Regions from separate parts of the Homo sapiens genome. Here region 1 is linked to region 2. Evidence: promoter capture Hi-C in 16 types of primary human blood cells and fetal thymus (Javierre and others, 2016). All regions are on one chromosome and are shown on one strand. Each heading gives the region's core, a stretch centred on a gene start or on the middle of the fragment in contact. The rest is flanking DNA. Distances are from core to core; before and after follow the strand shown. Region 1 overlaps NBDY (negative regulator of P-body association). Region 2 holds the start of FAAH2 (fatty acid amide hydrolase 2).

The links. The method cuts DNA at HindIII sites, captures the fragments that hold promoters and counts their contacts. A CHiCAGO score of 5 or more calls a contact.
Region 1: a contact is called between a fragment that was not itself captured here and the fragment with the promoter of FAAH2 in region 2, in 2 of 17 cell types (activated CD4 T cells and total CD4 T cells). The highest score is 5.6, in activated CD4 T cells.

The regions. Positions count from the first base shown.
Region 1 is chrX:56,818,261-56,822,157 of GRCh38, reverse strand. It overlaps NBDY (negative regulator of P-body association), which reads right to left. Exons shown (of 3, transcript NM_001348129.2): 3 at 2,979-3,897. Among named protein-coding and RNA genes, the nearest start is that of NBDY, 91 kb to the right of the region's middle. RefSeq lists a silencer at 1,708-2,002. The HindIII fragment of the contact is 3,504 bases long and covers 385-3,888 here.
Region 2 is chrX:57,285,124-57,288,655 of GRCh38, reverse strand. FAAH2 (fatty acid amide hydrolase 2) reads right to left here and starts at 1,950. Exons shown (of 11, transcript NM_174912.4): 1 at 1,639-1,950. The coding sequence starts at 1,830. The HindIII fragment of the contact is 1,960 bases long and covers 1,928-3,532 here.

The DNA.
Region 1 (3,897 bases), core at 887-3,386, 470 kb after region 2:
CCTAGACCCTGGGTTAGCTGAAAGGTGGGACCATGAGACCAGCCTGGCACTGGGAAGGCATTGACCATATCTTCATGGGTCCCCACCTGGTGTTTGATGCCAGTGTGTTAATCTGGCACTGGGACAGGCCTGAAGTCTGGTGCTGGTACCAGTTTGAAGCCTGGGGCCACTGGAGCCAACCTGGTGCTGGGGCAGTTTTGGAATCCAAGTCTATTGTGCAGGCCTAGAGCCTGGGTCTGCAGGATCCTACCTAGTGCCAAGGTAGGCCTGGAAGTTCAGTCTGCATGTACCAGCCTGGAACCTGGGGCTAAGGGGGCCTCTCTGGTGCAAGGTTTTACTGGAATGGGCCCAGTTTGGGGGTTTGAGGAAGTCCAGTACTAAGCTTTTTCTTCTTCCCCTCATAGATGTGTATCTTTCTCCATGCTGTGCTACTTAGAGTTGGGGGAGGGGTGATGTGCATAATGTAAAACTGTCCTTTTTCCACTCTATTATTTTTTCCCCTTTGGAAATGGAGTCTTGCTCTGTCGCTCAGGCTGGAGTGCGTGGCGCAATCTTGTCTCACTGCAAACTCCGCCTCCCAGATTCAAGCGAATCTCCTGCCTCAGCCTCCCAAGTAGCTGGGATTACAAGTGCCTGCTGCCACATCCGGCTAATTTTTGTATTTTTAGTAGAAACAGGGTTTCATCATGTTGGCCAGGCTGGTCTCAAACTCCTGACCTCAAATGATCTGCCCTTTCTCCACTCTTAAATGCATCTTTCTTTATTTGCTACACCCAGGTGCTGTAATCTCTCACTTGGTTTCTTTAGGCCTTGTAAAGGTAATTTTGCGCATGAATAGTTGTTCAAATGGATACTTCTGCAAGGTTATGAGTGCTGAAGAATTCCATTTTGCCATCTTGCTGCATAGGAATTTAATAAGTTGGGAGAGGCTGGCCAGGCATGGTGGTTCACGCCTGTAATCCCGGCACTTTCGGAGGCCAAGGGGCGGGCGGATCACCTGAGGTCAGGAGTTCGAGACCAGCCTCAACATGGAGAAACCCTGTCTCTACCAAAAATACAAAATTAGCTGGGTGTGGTGGTGCATGCCTGTAATCCCAGCTACTCGGGAGGCTGAGGCAGGAGAATTCCTTGAACCTGGGAGGTGGAGGTTACAGTGAGCCAAGATTGCACTATTGCACTCCAGCCTGGGCAACAAGAGTGAAACTCCGTCTCAAAAAAATAAAATAAAAGTTGGGAGAGGCTGCCTTGGGAGGTGCTAGCCAGACATCTATTGTTTTAAACAACTTGAGATATGCACATATAATACAATCCGTGATTTAAAGTGTACAATTCAATGGTTTTGGATATTTATAGATAAGCATAGATATGTGTAAATATCACTACAGTCAATTCTTATGCATTTTCATTAACCCTGAATAAAATCACACAGTCCTTAGACATCAATTCTCAATCATAACTTAAGGGAAACTCCATCCTTAAGCAAATATTTTTTCTGAACCTATAGACTTGCCTCATGTGGACATTTTATTTATATGAAATTATATAATATATGGTACTGTGTGACTGGCTTTTTTCACATAGCATAATGCTTTTGCTTTTCCCAGACCACCAGGCAAGAATTATTTTCCTTTTTTTTTTTTTTGGCATAATGCTTTCAAGGTTTATTCTGGCAGTATGTATACTTATTTCCTGTATATGACTAAATTAATATTCCATTGTGTGAATATACATTTTGTTTTCCATTCACCAGTTGATGGGCATTTGAGTTGTTTCCACATTTTCCTAGTACAAATATTTCTGCTGTAAACCGTCCTGTACAATTTTTGTTTGAACACCTGTTTTTTAGTTATTTTGGCTATGTATCAGGAGTAAAATTGCTGGGTAGCATGTTATTTCTTTTTTTTTTCTTTTTTTTGAGATGGAGTCTTGCTCTGTCATGCCCAGGCTGGAGTGCAGTGGTGGGATCTCGGCTCACTGCAACCTCTGCCTCCCAGGTTCAAGGGATTCTCCTGCGTCAGCCTCCTGAGTAGCTGGGCTAATTTTTTATATTTTTTAGTAGAGATGGGGTTTCACCATGTTGGTCAGGCTAGTCTCGAATTCCTGACCTCAGGTGATCCATCCACCTCAGCCTCCCAAAGTGCTGGGATTACAGGTGTGAGCCACCACGCCCAGCCATTATTTTTAACTTAGAGAGGAACCACAAAATTGTTTGCCCAGTGGCTGCACATTTATCATTACCAGCAACAATGCCGCATGTTCCTGTTTTCCCACATTCTAACATTTATTATTTTGCTATTTAAAATAATAATAATAATAAGTATCCTACTGGGTATAAATTGCTGTCTCTTTGTGATTTTGATTTGCATTTCCCTGATGACTAATAGTGTTGAGCATCTTCTCATGTGTAATTTGTGATTTGTATGTCTTCTTTACAGAAGAATCTATTCAGATCCTTTCGTTATAAAATTGGTTTATTGTTTGTTTTATTATTTAGCGGTAATTACTGTTTATTTTATTTTATTATTTTGTTTTATTTTTTGAGATGGCGTCTTGCCCTGTTGCTTAGGCTGGAGTGTGCATTGGTGCAATTTTGGCTCACTGCAACCTCTGCCTCCCAGGTTCAAGCTATCCTCCCACCTCAGCCTCCTGAGTAGCTAAGATTACAGGCATACACCACCACACCCTGCTAATTTTTTTTGTGTGTGTATTTTTAGTAAAGATGGGGTTTCATCATGTTGGCCAGGCTGGTGTCAAACTCCTGACCTCAAGTGATCCCCCTGCCTCAGCCTCCCAAAGTGCTGGGATTACAGGATGAGCCACCATGCCTGGTCTTATATATTTTAGATACAAGTCATTTATGAGACATATTATTTGCAAAAATAATCTTGCACTGTGGCTGTCTTTCAAATTTCTTGACTGTGTTCACTGAAGCAAATTTTTTTTCAATTTTAATTATGTCCAGTTTATCTTTTTTTTCCTTTATTAACTTGTGCTTTGGTGTAAGAATTAAAAATCTAATACTTAATTCAAGGTCACAAAAATTTATTCTATATTTCCTCCCAAGAGTTTTATAGTGTAACCCTTATATTTGAGTCTTTGGCCTATTTTGAGTTAATTTTTGTATTTTGCATGAGGTAGGGGTGGAAGTTTTTTGTTTTTTTGTTTTTTTTTTGCATGTAGATACCAAGTTGTCCCAGTACCATTTATTGAAAATAGTTATTTCCCCTTTTGTCTTGCCTCCTTCTCAGAAGTTAATTGGCTGCAAATTAACTTTTGTGAGGGCTTATGTCTGGACTTTGGATTCTATTTCATTGATCAATATTTATATCCTATGCCAGTACCACATAGACTTGTTTATTGTAGCTTTGTAATAAGTTTTAAAATTTGGAAATGTGACTCTTCAAACTTTGTATACTTCAAGATTGTTTTGGCTATTCTGGGTCCATTACATTTTCATATGAACTTTAGAATCAGGTTATAAATTTCTTCAAAGTAGGCAACCTTAATTTTGATAAGGGTTGCATTGAATAGTTTGATTATTTTGAAGAGTGTTGTCATCTTTATAATACTGTGCCTTCTGATGCATAAAATGCCTTTCACCAGATGTCCTTTTAAAGAAGTCTGTGTTTACTGTTTGTGATGTTCAGCCTGGCTCAGAAGTTTTAAAACTCTAATGTGTGATTAGTAATATTATACAATCTTTAAAATAACTGTCTATAATTTATTAAGTGTGCATAACATAACTCTAGAATATACATAAATGTCACCATACCTCCATTTGTGATTTTTCAGATTCTTTAATTCTGATGCTAGGGACTAATTTCAGAGGATTGGGTAAAATACTCAGGTTTCACAATCTCTCTAAATATTCATTTTACAATGTAAGCTTTAATTACT
Region 2 (3,532 bases), core at 701-3,200:
TTTTAAGGCCGGGCGCAGTGGCTCACACCTGTAATTCCAGCACTTTGGGAGGCCGAGGTGGGTGGATCACGAGGTCCGGAGATCAAGACCATCCTGGCTAACTCGATGAAAACCCGTCTCTACTAAAAAATACGAAATATTAGCCGGGCATGGTGGCGGGCGCCTGTAGTCCCAGCTACTCGGGAGGCTGAGGCAGGAGAATGGCGTCAACCCGGGAGGCGGAGCTTGCAGTGAGCGAAGATCGCACCACTGCACTCCAGCCCAGGCGACAGAGCGAGACTCCGTCTCAAAAAAAAAAAAAAAAAAAAAAAAAAAAAGAAATGTTTTTAAGATCACAGAGCTAGATCGTAGAAAAGCTAGGATTTCTGAACCCAGGGAGTCTGACTCTAGAGTCCATCCTTCTAATCATTATGTTACACAATCTTCTATGTGCCAGGTTCTTGATATGTATTATCTGCTATTGGTGTGGCACAAGGTCACAGAGCCATGAACAGACAGTCCAAAATTTGAAATATATCATCTTTCTACTATTAGGTTGGTGCAAAAGTAATTGTGATTTTTGCCATTAAAAGTAATGTCAAAATCTCAATTACAAAATCACAATTACTTTTGCACCAACCGAATACATCCCATTGCCTCCCTAACTGGTAGAAAAGCATGCATGAGTGGGTAGAGGCTGGGGAGGGGGTACGGCAAGAAGACAGGATATGTCTTTGAAAGGTAACCAGGAGTACAATACAAATATTAATAATTCATACATTCAGGAGCACATACTGAGATAGTATTTGCTGCATGCCTATTCTTTGTTAAGTAGTATTGTAGATTCTGGAAATAAAGCAATGACGAAAAACAAATGAAACAGCAGAGAGGTGAAAACAAGCAGAGTATAAATAAACAATACTAGACTGTAGCTCAAGATCTCCAGGTAACCAATCACTTATATGACAGAGATGAATAGTCCTGCCTGCACAATTCTATAGAGAACGAATGAGCTGCTTAATTTTTTTAATTTAGAACTTTCAACAATTTTTGTGCAAATCATTTTACTTCAGTTTCCTTATGCATAAAATATGAATATTGCCTATATAACTGCATCCGTGAAATAGAATATGTTTAAGTACCCAGGCAGAGTATTTCACATATACTATGCAATAAATATATGGTAGACGCAGCTTTTACTATCCTAGACCAAGTACTACTTTTACTTTAAATCAATTTTAAAAAGAATTGGTTGAATGGTAAGCAGCAGGTTGATCTGGGGCCTGTGAGAGACGGAAGAATAGAGAGAGAGAAAGGGAGAGGGAGAGAGAAAGAGAGAGACTGACTTTCCATAGCTGAGAATCAGTTTGAAATTCACACCTGCTTTACCCCACACACAGTAATTATGCACAAATAGGACAAATGGATAGGAAGGACTATGACGGTACCAAAATAGTCCAACCCATGCCCACAGTAAATGTCCTTGGTAAAAATAAACGTACTACAACACCCAGAAGTCTCCCTTCATCCCCAATAAATGCCTCTCCTAAGTCGCCCTAGTAGAGAATGGAAAGGAAACCACAACCACCGCCACCACTAAGCTTCCTGGATCCTGCTAAAAGACCTGTCCCTCCAGCCTCTTCTGAATTGCATTCTCACCTTTCTCTGTCGGATCAGCTTGGCCAGCTGCATCCCCGAAAGCAGAAGCAATGGTTCAGTCACCGGCCGAGGGGTCTTTGAGGCAAACTTTGGACCCCCTAAGACTAAAGCTGCTCGGCCTACTAAGCCTATGAGAAAGCCTAGCGCCCGCAAGAGGAACAACTGAATGCGGGCGGTAAATGAAGGTGCCATCGCAGCCTGGATTCCGCACGGTCCTAGTGCTTGAGGGTTACGTGCACCCTGGGGAAAGGACGAGAAAAGTACTAAGCAAAGAGGGACTTATGAAGCTTTTCGTTTACAAGTCCAGTGTCTACCCACAATTCCACAGGAGCTTGTTTATCATCACCTGCAGGGCTCCTAGCCAGAGATGGGGGCGGAGACTTCCCAGCAGCTGCCTGTGTGCAATGCTACCTGTCGTTAGTGCTGTTGTAACCCAAGACAGAAAATGCGTCATAAGAAAGAACACTGGCCTTGGAATTCCCCAGTTCTGCTACTGTGTAGCCCTGGCCAACCTACACTATATCTCCTAGTCAGTTTACTCATAAGAAAAAAAATGGGAATAACTACTCCTATATCAAAGGGTTACCATAAACACTAGATAATAAGTAAAAACATTTAGCACAATTTATGGTAAATAGTATAAGTGGTAGTTGTTATAGTTTATTTCAGCTGTGCTTGTGAAAAAAGTGTTGTAAGTATACCTTTGTATGCAAATATTCAGTATGCTCAACAAACAACTAAATGGCAAGTATATATATATTTTCCATATGCATATTATTTAATCCTTATAAGATCACTAACAGGTAGTACTGATGAACATCAAATCTCCAGCCCATCTGTCTCCTAAACTGGACACTTGAAATGCCTTTTTTGACATATCCATGTGAATGTCTTCCAGATCGTTCAAACTCAACAAGTCCAAAACTCATCCTTTTGTCCCCCAGACTGCTGCCCCTACAGGTCTACAAATGGAATTTTCATCCACCCAGTCAGCCATGCCAAAAATCTAGAATCACTTCAGATTCTTCCATTTCTCTTATTCTCATGACAGAATCCAGCCCTTCCTTCTCAACTCAGTCTGGCTCAGATCTCACTGAGGTTTACATGAACTTCTACAAATAATCTAGCTGATCACTCTGCCTTTATTTATAGAGTGTTCTTTCTAATATGTAAATCTGACAATATTACACCCCTGCCAATAACTCCGCAATAATTCTCCATTTTCCACAGATTCAAGACCCATCTACTTTGTCCAGCATTCGACTCTCATGACTGGTGTCTGAAAAACTCTATGCTTCATCCCTAACCCCTTCTATCCCTCACATGCTAAGCTCCTGACAAACAACTATCCGAAAGTTCTCTCTTCCCTCCTTATCTTTGCATCTGCTTTCCCAACCTCTTCATCTAGTTCAGGACAAGTACCACCTCCTCCAGTAAGTCTTCCCTGAACTTACAACTGGGTGTGATGCCACTCTTTTGTAACCCTGCACTCCACAGATTAACAAAATCATAGCACTTACAACCCTCTGTTATGTGTTAGGTTTTTGTGTCTATGCCCCATCTAGATATAAACTCCTCGAAGAACAGGGTCATTCTAATTCCTCTTTGTATTGCCAGAGCCTGACATAGGGCTTGATGAGAAGTCAATACAGGTTTGTAGGCTGAAGGTATGTGATTATGAGATAATGAGCGTTGAAGATAGGGATTCGAGCTTGGCATTTAAGGTCTTGGGTAGGTGAAATGACAACGTCATCCAGGTCACTGTCTTTTCACCTGCAGAACTTAGGTTGATACTGAAAGTGTCATCACAGCACTTCTAGCCTAATTCAAGCACCTGGTAGAAAGCAGGTTAATCATGACAGGCACATCTAGCAGATCCAGTAAAGAAAGCTGA